Linked DNA regions of Homo sapiens: regions 1 and 3 are each linked to region 2. The links are contacts of gene promoters, found by promoter capture Hi-C in blood cells and fetal thymus (Javierre and others, 2016). All regions are on one chromosome and are shown on one strand. Each heading gives the region's core, a stretch centred on a gene start or on the middle of the fragment in contact. The rest is flanking DNA. Distances are from core to core; before and after follow the strand shown.

Region 1 (3,719 bases), core at 757-3,256, 2.5 Mb before region 2:
AGTAATTTCCATGGAAAACACTGTTTGTTACTTTTCTGTTCATCACTGTGGATTGATGTGGACTGTAGGACATTCACTGAAGCAAGTAAATTAAAAGGGTTGACTAACTGTTTTGGAAGAAACCAGGAGCCTTGATGGCACCTCTATTTCAGCATGTCATTTTTTTCCCTCAAAAGTTTTTAGATAAAGAAATATTGAGTAGGTCACATGTAAAAATAACTGACATTGGAAAATCAAACCAACGGAAATGGAAATGAGACCTGAGGTTCATATAAGGCTTCATTTTTCAAGCCAGTCAGGAGACCAGGTCACACAGCTGTTCTAGAAGCTATACAGGTGGTCCTTGACATTTGGTTGGAAGCTCTCACCTTTCTGTAGCATTGCCGGTCACCATATTTAATATCTAAGCGTACTGACGTTAGCCACAGTTTAGACTGTGGAACTACTAGCTCGAGTTTAAACTGTTTTTGAGCATCAGGTTTGTCATCTGTTTGGTTTTCTTTTGTAATACTGAAATGGTGTTTAATGAATTTTGGCATGTATGGTTTTAAATCAAAGTTTTGCTATTTAACAACTTTGTGACCTTGGGCAGAGTTACTTATCTGAATCTTTTCACTCATCTGTAAAACAAGGATGATGATTACTAACTCATAACATCACTTTCAGGATTAAATGAGATAGATTATAAGAAGAAGGGTGCTCAATGCCTATCACATAGTAGGTACAGGAATGGTAGAGATTATAATTATTGCCTACTTTAGGCTTGCTTAAAAACTCAAGTAGACTGTATGCATACATGCACACAGATATACTCAGCTATTTATTTGTTTTCTCAACAAATAATTATTGAGGATCTACTATGTGAGAAGAATATAATACTGACCTAAAGTGGATACTTTTCTTGTTGTCCCTGTTCTCCTGGAGCTTACAGTTTTGATGGGAAGATGGACATTAACCAAATTATCATGTCCATAGATGTAAAGGAGCACCTGCCTTGAGTGTTACAGATGAGAAGTACATGGTACCAGGAGAGTTTGGACAACAGAAAACTTTTACTGGGGAAATGATGACTGATTTACAATCTCAAGAAGCAGAAGAAGTTAACTAGATGTTCTGGGAAGGAATGAGTGTTCCAGGTAGAAGAAACTCCATGTGCAAAGAGGCCCTAGGGCAGGAGGAACAAAACAAGTAGGAGGAACTGAAAGAATGCCAGTGTGACTGGAGTAGGGAGGTCAAGGGAGAGCATATGGAGCATACCGGAGTAGGGAGGTCAAGGGAGAGCATGGTATTGGACGAAGTGATAAGATGGTTTGACCATTCCCCATACACTGAAGAAAAGACAACATTTACTCAATTATTCTTTATAGGGCATCATTTATTCAATCATGTTTTAACATGTAAAGCATTGGGACATTCAGAGATGGTCTTTGCTCAGAAAGCTTGCTGATCAGTGAGTGAATTGAGGCATTAAAGAATTATAATTAATAATACAAGATGGACAACAAAACATGTCATCAGAGAGGTAAGGGAAAAGAACTATAAGAACTCAGAGAATTGAGAAATTACTTCTTGCTGGGAACAATAGAGGAAGACTTTTTTCTTTCTTCAAGAAGTATTTGATCCTGAGGGAGAAAAGGGAACAAGTACCATAATCACAGAAGTGGGAAAGAGTACAGGTGTAGATATTAGCAAGTTGCTTATAATGGCTGAAGTACTTGAGCAAAGTAGCAGAAGATGAGCTAGACAGAACCAGATGAAGCAGGGTTTTGAATGTTTGGCTAAGACATTTAGTCTCTACCCAGTAGGGAAAGCACACGTTTTATCAAAAGAACAACTTAATCACAATTATATTTTGGAGAGATTAATCTGGCATTATGGGTAGATTGAATAGGACAAGAGACCAGTATCTGGGAGAGCAGCTAGGAAACAATGACATCTACAAATGCTTGTCTAGAAGAGCCTGAGCTGGGATGCAAGAGGCACTAGAAGTAAAATGTGGAGTGTATTAATTATTTTGCAAGAGCTGTTGTAATGAAGCAGCACAAACGGGGTGGCTTAAACAACAGACATTTATTGTCCCCTAGTTCGGGAGGCTAGAAGTCTGAAATCAAGGAGTTGGCAGGGTCATGCTCCCTTTGAAACCTGTAGGGCAACCCTTGCTTGCCTCTTCCTAGCTCCTGGTGGTTTGTGGTCATCTTTGGCCTTCCTGACTTGCAGATGCATAAATCCATTCTCTGCCTTCATCATCACATGGTGCTCTCCCTGAGTGTCTGTCTTTGTGTGATAGATGGCTTCTGACAAGGATGCCAGTCATACTGGATTCGGGGTTCACTCTTGCTGCAATATGACTGCATCTCAGCTCAACCAAACATGTCTGCAATGACCCTATTTCCAAACCAGAACACATTCTGAGGTATTGAGAATTAGGACCTCAGAACCTCAATATCTTTTTTGGGGGACACAATCCAACCCATAACACCTAGGCTGAAGTCTTATTGGACAGAAGGACAGAGGGAAGGAGCTCAGAGGAGGCCCCAGATGTGCGTGCATTGGCTTCCCTGGCCAGCTAGCCCTAAGCTTTCATGTTGCAGGAAGCCACCTATACTGTGTGAGAAGAGGGGCATCTCTATAAAGGCTCCAGGGCTCTCTCATGATGTTGCCTTCTCATCCAACACGTCCTGAAATTCTACCAACTCCCACAGCCGCATGGGGAGGAATTGTCCTCAGATACCCTGGAGGAAATGTCAGGGCAATTTCTCACAATTTTAGACTTGGTTTTTGCCTTTTGTGAGAAAGAAAAAAGATGGCTTTTGCAGTATTTTGTAACAACTCGCATCAATAGCCACTAGATGGCAATCTTCACACATTTCCATGCTTTCTCCGCTTTCTTCAAACCCGAATCCTCAAAGCCTGGAGGCAACTCCTCTCTGCACAGGGAATAGAGGTGAGTGAGGAGTCCCATTTCCTGTGATCCCCCACAGACTTTAGTGCATGGAAGTCTAAAAAAATGGAAGGAAGACTGTCTCTCACAATAGTCCTAATCAGTTTTAGCACCGTTCATACCTTTTAGTTGCATAGTAAATAGCATTTCATAAATATTCATGAGTTTGCCGAATTTAACCAGGGGAAAAGCAAGAACTCTTAACAGTATGTGGTCTTGGGTGTAATTTATGCCCAAGTATCTCTGGCATATAAAAGCGGGGACTCTTATTCCGAGAGGTCTGTTTACTTGGTCGTTAGCAAGGGTGAAGGAGACACTTGCTGAAATTAGTTTTCCTTCTCTCAGAATCCTAATTTGTGTTATTTATAGTAGCCAGAAAGCAACAGAGAAGCAGCCCTAATCTTGTGATGATACGGAGGGAGGGGAAAACAAGACCAGAGAATTGTAGGTCTTGGGCCTGTTCACACAGGAGCCTAACTTCGAAATACAATTGACTACATGCAAAGACCAAGTTACCATTGTTTCCGTAAAGATCTGTTTTAAGTGCAGTCTAATGGTTTGTATAAAGCATCTTCACTTTTTCCCACTCAGACACTGAGCTAGAGGAAAGAAAGAACACAACACTACAAAAGTTAGTTAAACCAGCAATTTGAAAAGTAGAAAATTCCAGAATCATGCATTTCTCATTTTGAAATAAAAAATTATTTGGTTCTATAACATACGTAAGCAATACATAAAAGAGTGTTTATCTCGGAGTTAGAAGATGCTTGTAATGATA
Region 2 (3,574 bases), core at 412-2,911:
ACAGAAGTGGATAAGCATACCAGAGTAAACAAAGGAATCCTTTCTTAAACAAAAAACCCATACAACTTATTTTACTCCCTTATCGAGAAATATTTTCAAAATATAAGCCCATTCCTGGTAGGTTAAGACCAATTCAGATGACTGCATTGCCATTCCAGGGCCAAGAAAGCAACTTTAAAAACATGACCTACGCTATGGTCTAAATGTGTCCCTCAAAATGCACATTTTGAAATCCTAACTCCCGAACTGACGGTTTTAGCAAGTGGCATCTTGGGAAGTGAGGAATGGGATTAAGGTCCTTATAAAATAGGCCCAAGCGAGGGCCTCTGCCTCTCCACCATGCGAGGACAGAGCCAGAAGGTGCTATCCACTAAAGAGAAAGCACCCCTCCCTAGACACACCTTATTCTGTGACATTCCAGCCTTCAGAAATGTGAAGAATAAACTTCTGTGGTTCATAAACTACCCAGTCTAGGATATTTTGTTATGGAAGCCCAAAAGGATCAAGCCATTCCAAAATAGCATTGTTGCCCACACCATCTTTTTGAACCTCACTTAGGGTAACACCATACCCATTCGGAGTTAAGCCCTTCCTAACTCTTAAGTATCAACGTGCTTGGAAACGTGAGCAATCCTGACACGTTTTTTCTTCCTAAAGAACAATACATACTAATAATAGGATCGGCTAATAATACTAGATTCTATGCATGAAGCCTAGTATTTAAAAGCATGCAATCTGGAGCTAGACCGCCTGGGAACAAATCCCAGCTTACTAGACAAGCTGTTTAACCTTTTACTTGGTCTCATTTAACTCATTTGTAAAACGAGGGCAATTTCTGATTTCATAGGGTTGCTACGTGGATTTTAAAAAGCCCCTTGCAATATAGCCTAATATTCAGAACTCAATAACATGAACTGTCTTAAAAGGTTTCCAGAAAAAATCCCCAACAGGTTAGGTCGGCTTATCATTACAACGCTTTCCGGTATAAGGGAGATGAATAGCTATTTAGCACCACACAATTTCTCCTCTGGGCTCGGAACAGCTCTCGGTAGACTACGATCCCTTTCCGACGTGGAAACTTCAGATAAAAACGCTCCCCGAGGTCCGAGGCCAGTACGGGGCGGAGCCAGGACGCGGGCCAGAGTCCCCCGAAGGACGGTGCCTCTCTGGCCCCAAGAAGTACAGCTTTTATTTTGCAGCAATCTGAGCCAACCCGAGAAGATTCTGAAGCTTCCAAAACAGAACCGACGAGAACACTCATAGAATGCCTCTCCACTTCCTAACTGTCGCTTTGAGGAGAGAAAAGTAAGCCACAGCCAGCACCGCAGACTGGAGAAGGCGGAGTCTGCAGTGTGCCTAACGCGAACTAGAGGGACCGAGGCGGGGCGGGGCTGGCGAAGCGCGAGGACCCGGGGCCGAGGTGTGGGGCTGACCATAGAGTGCCGGACGCCGGTGTGAACATACACTATCTGCTCCTGTAGTGCCCAGGCCCCTGCCGGGGAGTCCCCGGAGCTACCATTATCGAGACTCTCATTCTATTGCCCTGCGGCTTTAATCCTTCGAGTGTAGGGGAAAAATTGAACCCTAAAGACAGGCAGCTCCTAGGCACCAGCACAGGAAATAAGCAATGGAGGTGGGGTCCTTTGCTCGCGCCGAAATTCAAAGGAATAAATAGTTCCGGCGCGGGTGTTGAGAGCGGTGTGGCAGGTGTTGTAGCCGCTATGGTGAAGTTCGCTTTGTAGCGGCCCCGGCTAGAGAGTTGTTCTGTTCCCTGCCTTTGTGACCCGGAGGAGCTTTTGGGGTGCGTCAAGCCCCTGGCCTGAGGCAGCGGTGAGGCGTGTGCGTGAGCACGGCCGGTTGGGCCGGGCCAGACTTCCTGGCGGGAGGCGGGAGGCGGGAGGCGGGGCGCGGGGCGCGGGGGCTGTAGGGAGGGGGACCAGTGGCAGAGGGACCTTAGGTGATCCTTAGAAATAAAGGCTAGCTTCTGTTCGACCTTGGAGTAGGGCGAAGAGGTGTAGACAGGCCTGGAGAAGCGAGGTAAAAGCCTGAGTAAAAGCAAGAAGTTGGAGAATATGAGATACATCTCATCTCTAGTAAATACTTAAATGACTTCCCCTCCTCCCGGAGTCAAGCACAATTCGGGGATGCAATGACGGACGTAGGTGAAGACACTGCGGGAACTTACAGACAAGTAATGACCGTCTAATATCAGCTTTAAGTACCATGAAGGAAAAAGAAAGCCGAGTGAAGGATTGTGGAGAGGTGACATAGGGAGGTCAGGGAGGACTCCAGTAAGGTGACATTTGAGCAAAGACGTGAGTGCAGTAGAGAGTAAGCTATGTCAGTATCAGAGAAAAGCACATTATAGGCAAAGATAATGGGATATGTAATAATCCATAGTCTTTGTTTAGGTAGAGTATGATAAAAGTAGAAGGCAAGCCTGGAAAAACGGGTAGAAGAAATAGTTAAGACTTCCCAGTTGAATGGTTTAATTTCCAGATAGTGGCTAACTCTGGTATATTTTTGAGTAGATGAACGATGTCTTTACATCAGACAAGATAGTTTGTCAAGTGGCTGTTTTATTTCTATCACCCTATCGTTGCTGTTTTTGCCTCGTGTTCATTATGATTCCAGGTTTACATTCCACTTAGGTGGTGGTATTTCTGTTTCGTACAGAACTGGTTTGTGGCCTGTTTGATTCCTGTCAGAGGTTTGCTGACCCAAGACAGTATCGAAAATGCATATTAAGTCAATTATTCTAGAGGGATTCAAGTCCTATGCTCAGAGGACCGAAGTCAATGGTTTTGACCCCCTCTTCAATGCTATCACTGGCTTAAATGGTAGTGGGAAATCCAACATATTGGACTCCATCTGCTTTTTGCTGGGCATCTCCAACCTGTCTCAGGTAAAGTGTAAACTTTCTGATTTATTTGAATTTAAGTTGGCAGGAGAATCCTCACTGAACTTTGGAGACGTCCCGATATTCTCTTCATTTGTGTTTTTATACTTTTTGTAAATTACACCTCACTGCAACCTTTTAAGGAAAGTAATATTACTCCTTTAGATGAGAAAATAGAAACTTAGAGATGTTTAGAAGTAACAGTGCCTCAAAACTCAGGCATTCTGACTGTAAAGCAGTCTCATTCCAGAGTATTTTCAACCCTGTGTAATGATGCCTTTTCAAATCCTATTAATGGATTGAATGACTAGTGAAAATCTTTGGGACAGTATTTCCTTATATCTTGCAAAGTAACTTTTTATTAAAAAATGAATAGGAAACAATTCAATTCAGGGTTGAAAAGGTTCTGTAGAGAAAAGTGTCCATTGCAGGTTGTTGCCTATTTTCCTTGTTTTTCTTGCCAGAGGATGCAGCTGCCTAACCTTGTCTACTTAATGGACACTACGTTGGTGGGTTTTCCAACAGCAAGGGACCCATTTTTAGTGCTGCTTTGTACGGTAGGGAGTTTTGTAATTGTTACACTTTTCATATTTTATTTTAGGTTCGGGCTTCTAATTTACAAGATTTAGTTTACAAAAATGGGCAGGCTGGTATTACCAAAGCCTCTGTGTCAAT
Region 3 (3,795 bases), core at 690-3,189, 2.5 Mb before region 2:
GATAGTAACCTATCTAGAAAAAAAAAAAGTGTTACCAAAGTGAGGAGTTTAGTATGAGGGTATATGAATACATGAATAGGGTAAATGCAGAAGTGACAGCCTCCCTGCTGGGAGGTAATCCATGGTACACTGGAGGGCAGGAGGTGGTCTCACCACAGGAGAGGCCAGGATGGCTCATCCAGCCTTGCTGTGGTCAAGTGAAACCACTCCCTTTGTTAGAGTTCTTCCATCATTATGAAGCCTTCTGACTATATTTTGGGTCTCCATGCCAATTTCATTCAGGGAGAGATATGCAAACGAGTGTGCTTGAGTCACCAGTCTGCTTGACAGTTTCAGTTCTCCCTGTAAATCAGTGCGTTGATGTCTAGGTAACAGGAGAGAACTGCGGCCTTGTGAAGCTTGGCCTTGGCCCCAATGGGTCTCAAACCCCTCTGGACCAGGGAAAAAGCAGAGAGAACAGGGGCAAGTGGGGTCACTTAAAGGGGACCAGGGACTTTAAACTCACGTAATAGGTTTCAATTTTGGCAAGAAAAGAACCTAGGAAATAAATCTTTCACACCATCTTTTCAGACTGTCACTATTAAGTGAAACCTGGTTAAAAAAGTTCTATTTCTTCTATTATGAACAACAGTGGAGGGTTATAGGAAAGGAAGGAGCACTGTGGGATGCCTTAATTTAAGGGAAAAGTGAATTAATGGGATAGAGAGAATTCCTTCTGCTCTAATGAGAGTGCCTACCCCACCCTCGTTATTGTGGTAACATAACTTAGTAGTCTGACATAGGGCTCTGGATCCTCCCATCCCTAGGAATTGTACAGTTTAAGAATATTGGAGCAAGACACCTGTGGCACTCACCTGGCTGGTGTGGAGCCAGTATTGCAGCTTGGATTTGTTTTTGATTCGTGGTAGCAGCAGCCTGTATACTATGTGCTCACCAATGGTGGTCAAAATGGACAGACCAAATCCAATGCACAGCAGCACAAAGAGCCCAGAGAAGTGTTTGATGCCCATTTGCAAAGTCTGTGACAGAATAGGAAAGAAAAGGCCATGAATACAATGATATACCTGGCCCAATGCTTGTGTACTCTTTGGTTTTCAGATGGATATTCATTTTTTCTGGACTCAAGGACAGCTGGAGACTATTTCTCCCTGTGTGTTCTGTGACCTTCATTATACATCATGAAAGAAATTCAGCCAGGGTTGGACTGAGGGCTGCCGAGGAGCACCCAATGCCTAGAGGGTGAGAAATAAAAATAAAATTAAAAGCTCTCCAACCGACTGAACGAACTTTCTCTTGTCCATGGGGACCCCGAAGAAACCTTAAAAACTGAGTTCCTGGCCTTGATTGGATGGGAGGTCTGTCATGCCTCAGTTGTCCCTTCCTTATTAACCTTTAGCCATAATTCATTCTTAAGAAGTAAGCAAAAGCTAGCTCTGGAAAACAAGAAACCGATAACTCATTGCTTTATCACCTTTAGCTAATCATCTAAGGCCATAACCAGATTCTCCCTCCCTCTTTGCAGTTTCAGTGTGACAGCTCACCAGTTTCCCAATGCACCCTTCCTAAAAAATGACCACAATCTCCAGATGGTTTTGGCCAACTTGTGGGGGATGCATAGTGAGGGTTTTCATGTCCTCTGCTTCACATTTGGACATCAGAAGACCAAAATCTCCACCCTCGGGTCATGCTAACACCACCATTTTTTGAACATGGGCCCAGGAAGAGGCATGAAGCTCAACTGCACATGTGCATGTATCTCTTTTCATAAATATTTATGACTCCTCCTATAGCTTACTCAATACGTATACTCAGCCACCCCACTCAGCATAAATTCCTGTTCCCTTTTACCCCTCCCTTGAAGTGCTTGCTCTCAGCTTCTGCTGAGGCTATGCTTCCCATTCTGCAGGATGGCTGGCCTGCTGGCTGCAACCCTTTATGAGAACTAAAGATCTCCTGGCCAAATTTATGAAGCTCATGATTCTTCAGTTGACAGGCGCTATTCGTATGTTAATCCACTGTGCAAATGGCCCCTGGAGTTGTGCCAAGGCCCTGGGTCTGGACCACCTTATGGTCTCTTAGAGATTGAGAGAGATAGAGATAGAGAATTGAAACAATTTAATATACCTGGTAGCTGTCAAGGAAAGAACGTCCCTCAGGGAAGAGAATGAGTAGATTTAAGGGGAAAAAGATGGTGAGTTCAGTAACTTTGGAATTTGGATCTGGTAGGGAACATGGAAATCATCTAGTTCATTTACAGAGGAGGAAAGTGAGACCAGAGAAGTGTAGTAAACCGAGCCAAGCCACAAAAAAGGCATAGAAGAGAAAGAGAAGGAACTTAATGATATTTATTGGTTGCTTACTTTCTGCCAAGTGTTTTACATTAAAATAGATATATAACGTCTATTTTATAACTAAGGAAAGTGGAGTTACTGCAACTTTTAAGTGGCAAAGTTGGTCTTTCAGTCCATTTCTGTTCAGCTCCAAAGCCTGGGCTCTTTCTGCTCTACTGCTATATACCAAAACAGCAGCAGTTATAGCAACAATAGTAGTTACAATAAATATCTGTGGCCAGCACTTTGCTAAGTGATTTGTGTAGATTAAGAAAACCCTCACATGTACTCTAAAACAGCCATTATTTAGCCATTGACATCAATGACAAGAGTCAATCCCGTAGAAGTAAAAATACATAATATATTGAGTTAATACTAGGTGCCAGGCACTCTTCTGCGTATCATGGGATAGAGATAGAAGGAAGTTATATCTTTCCTTTTAAACAGCTTGAGTCTAGGGAGAAAACAAACATATACCTCCATGATACATTTGATCCATGCTTCCTGGGATTTGTGGGGAAGCTGGTTCATGAGATAACATTTGAATAAGACAGGCAGGATGGGGAGGTTGGGTGGGGAAAGTGAACATACTAACCTGAGGGTAGCATAAACAAAGGAAAAAAGACATGACTTTCCTGGACAGTGGTATAGTGTTGTGAAACTGACTGCTGTGGCTGAAGGAAAAGTATACAAGGCATGAATAGTGCCATAGTTTGAATGTATATGTCCCTCTCAAACTCATATGTTTAAACCTAAACTCCAAGGGTTGGTATTAAGAGCCCTTATGAAGGGATGAGTGCCCTTATAAAAGGGCTTGAGGAAGCTAGCTAGTCCCTTTTGTTGCCCTTCCAGCCTTTCACCATGGGAGGACACATCATTTGTCCCCTGTGGAGGACAAGCAACAAGATGCCATCTTGGAAGCAGAGACTGGGCCCTTACTAAGACAATAAACTTGGTGGTGCTTTGATCTTGAACTTCCAGCCTCCAGAACTGTGGGGAATACACTTCTCTTCTTTATAAAGTACCCAGTCTCGGGTATTTTGTTATAATGGCACACATGGACAAAGATATGCAGTGAGAGAGAAACAGGGCCACACTAGGCAAATCCTCAGATGCCGTACTAAGGAGCCTGGGTGTTATCCCTTTGCTGGAAGCTTTTGGTCATCATTATCATTTATAATTATTTAGCATTGAATATGTGTAAGGCACAATTCTGAGCACTTTATCAATGTAGCAACTTGCCTTATCTTTATGACAATTTATAAGGTAAATACTGGTATAATCTCCATTTTATAAGTGAAGAAACTGAGCAACAAAGAAGTTCAATAACTTGTCCAAGGTCACATAGCTCGTGAAGGTTAGAGCTGGGATTCAAACCCATGCCGTCTGTTTTCAGAGCCCACAGTCTTCACTGACTCATTTGTCTGATGTGAATGATCCTCCCATTCTCTTTAAAGGTTTTCCT

The links. Contacts are between HindIII fragments. The CHiCAGO score rates a contact against its expected background, and 5 or more counts as called.
Region 1: a contact is called between a fragment that was not itself captured here and the fragment with the promoter of SMC2 in region 2, in 1 of 17 cell types (total CD4 T cells). The highest score is 5.0, in total CD4 T cells.
Region 3: a contact is called between a fragment that was not itself captured here and the fragment with the promoter of SMC2 in region 2, in 1 of 17 cell types (M1 macrophages). The highest score is 6.5, in M1 macrophages.

The regions. Positions count from the first base shown.
Region 1 is chr9:101,599,495-101,603,213 of GRCh38, forward strand. All of the region lies in intron 6 of GRIN3A (glutamate ionotropic receptor NMDA type subunit 3A), which reads right to left. Among named protein-coding and RNA genes, the nearest start is that of PPP3R2, 6.4 kb to the left of the region's middle. The HindIII fragment of the contact is 1,138 bases long and covers 1,438-2,575 here.
Region 2 is chr9:104,092,648-104,096,221 of GRCh38, forward strand. SMC2 (structural maintenance of chromosomes 2) reads left to right here and starts at 1,662. Exons shown (of 25, transcript NM_006444.3): 1 at 1,662-1,830; 2 at 2,677-2,905; 3 at 3,501-3,574. The coding sequence starts at 2,738. RefSeq lists enhancers at 945-1,614, 1,077-1,396, 1,615-2,282. The HindIII fragment of the contact is 5,032 bases long and covers 1,229-3,574 here.
Region 3 is chr9:101,578,342-101,582,136 of GRCh38, forward strand. GRIN3A (glutamate ionotropic receptor NMDA type subunit 3A) reads right to left here. Exons shown (of 9, transcript NM_133445.3): 7 at 855-1,019. Among named protein-coding and RNA genes, the nearest start is that of PPP3R2, 15 kb to the right of the region's middle. The HindIII fragment of the contact is 3,086 bases long and covers 397-3,482 here.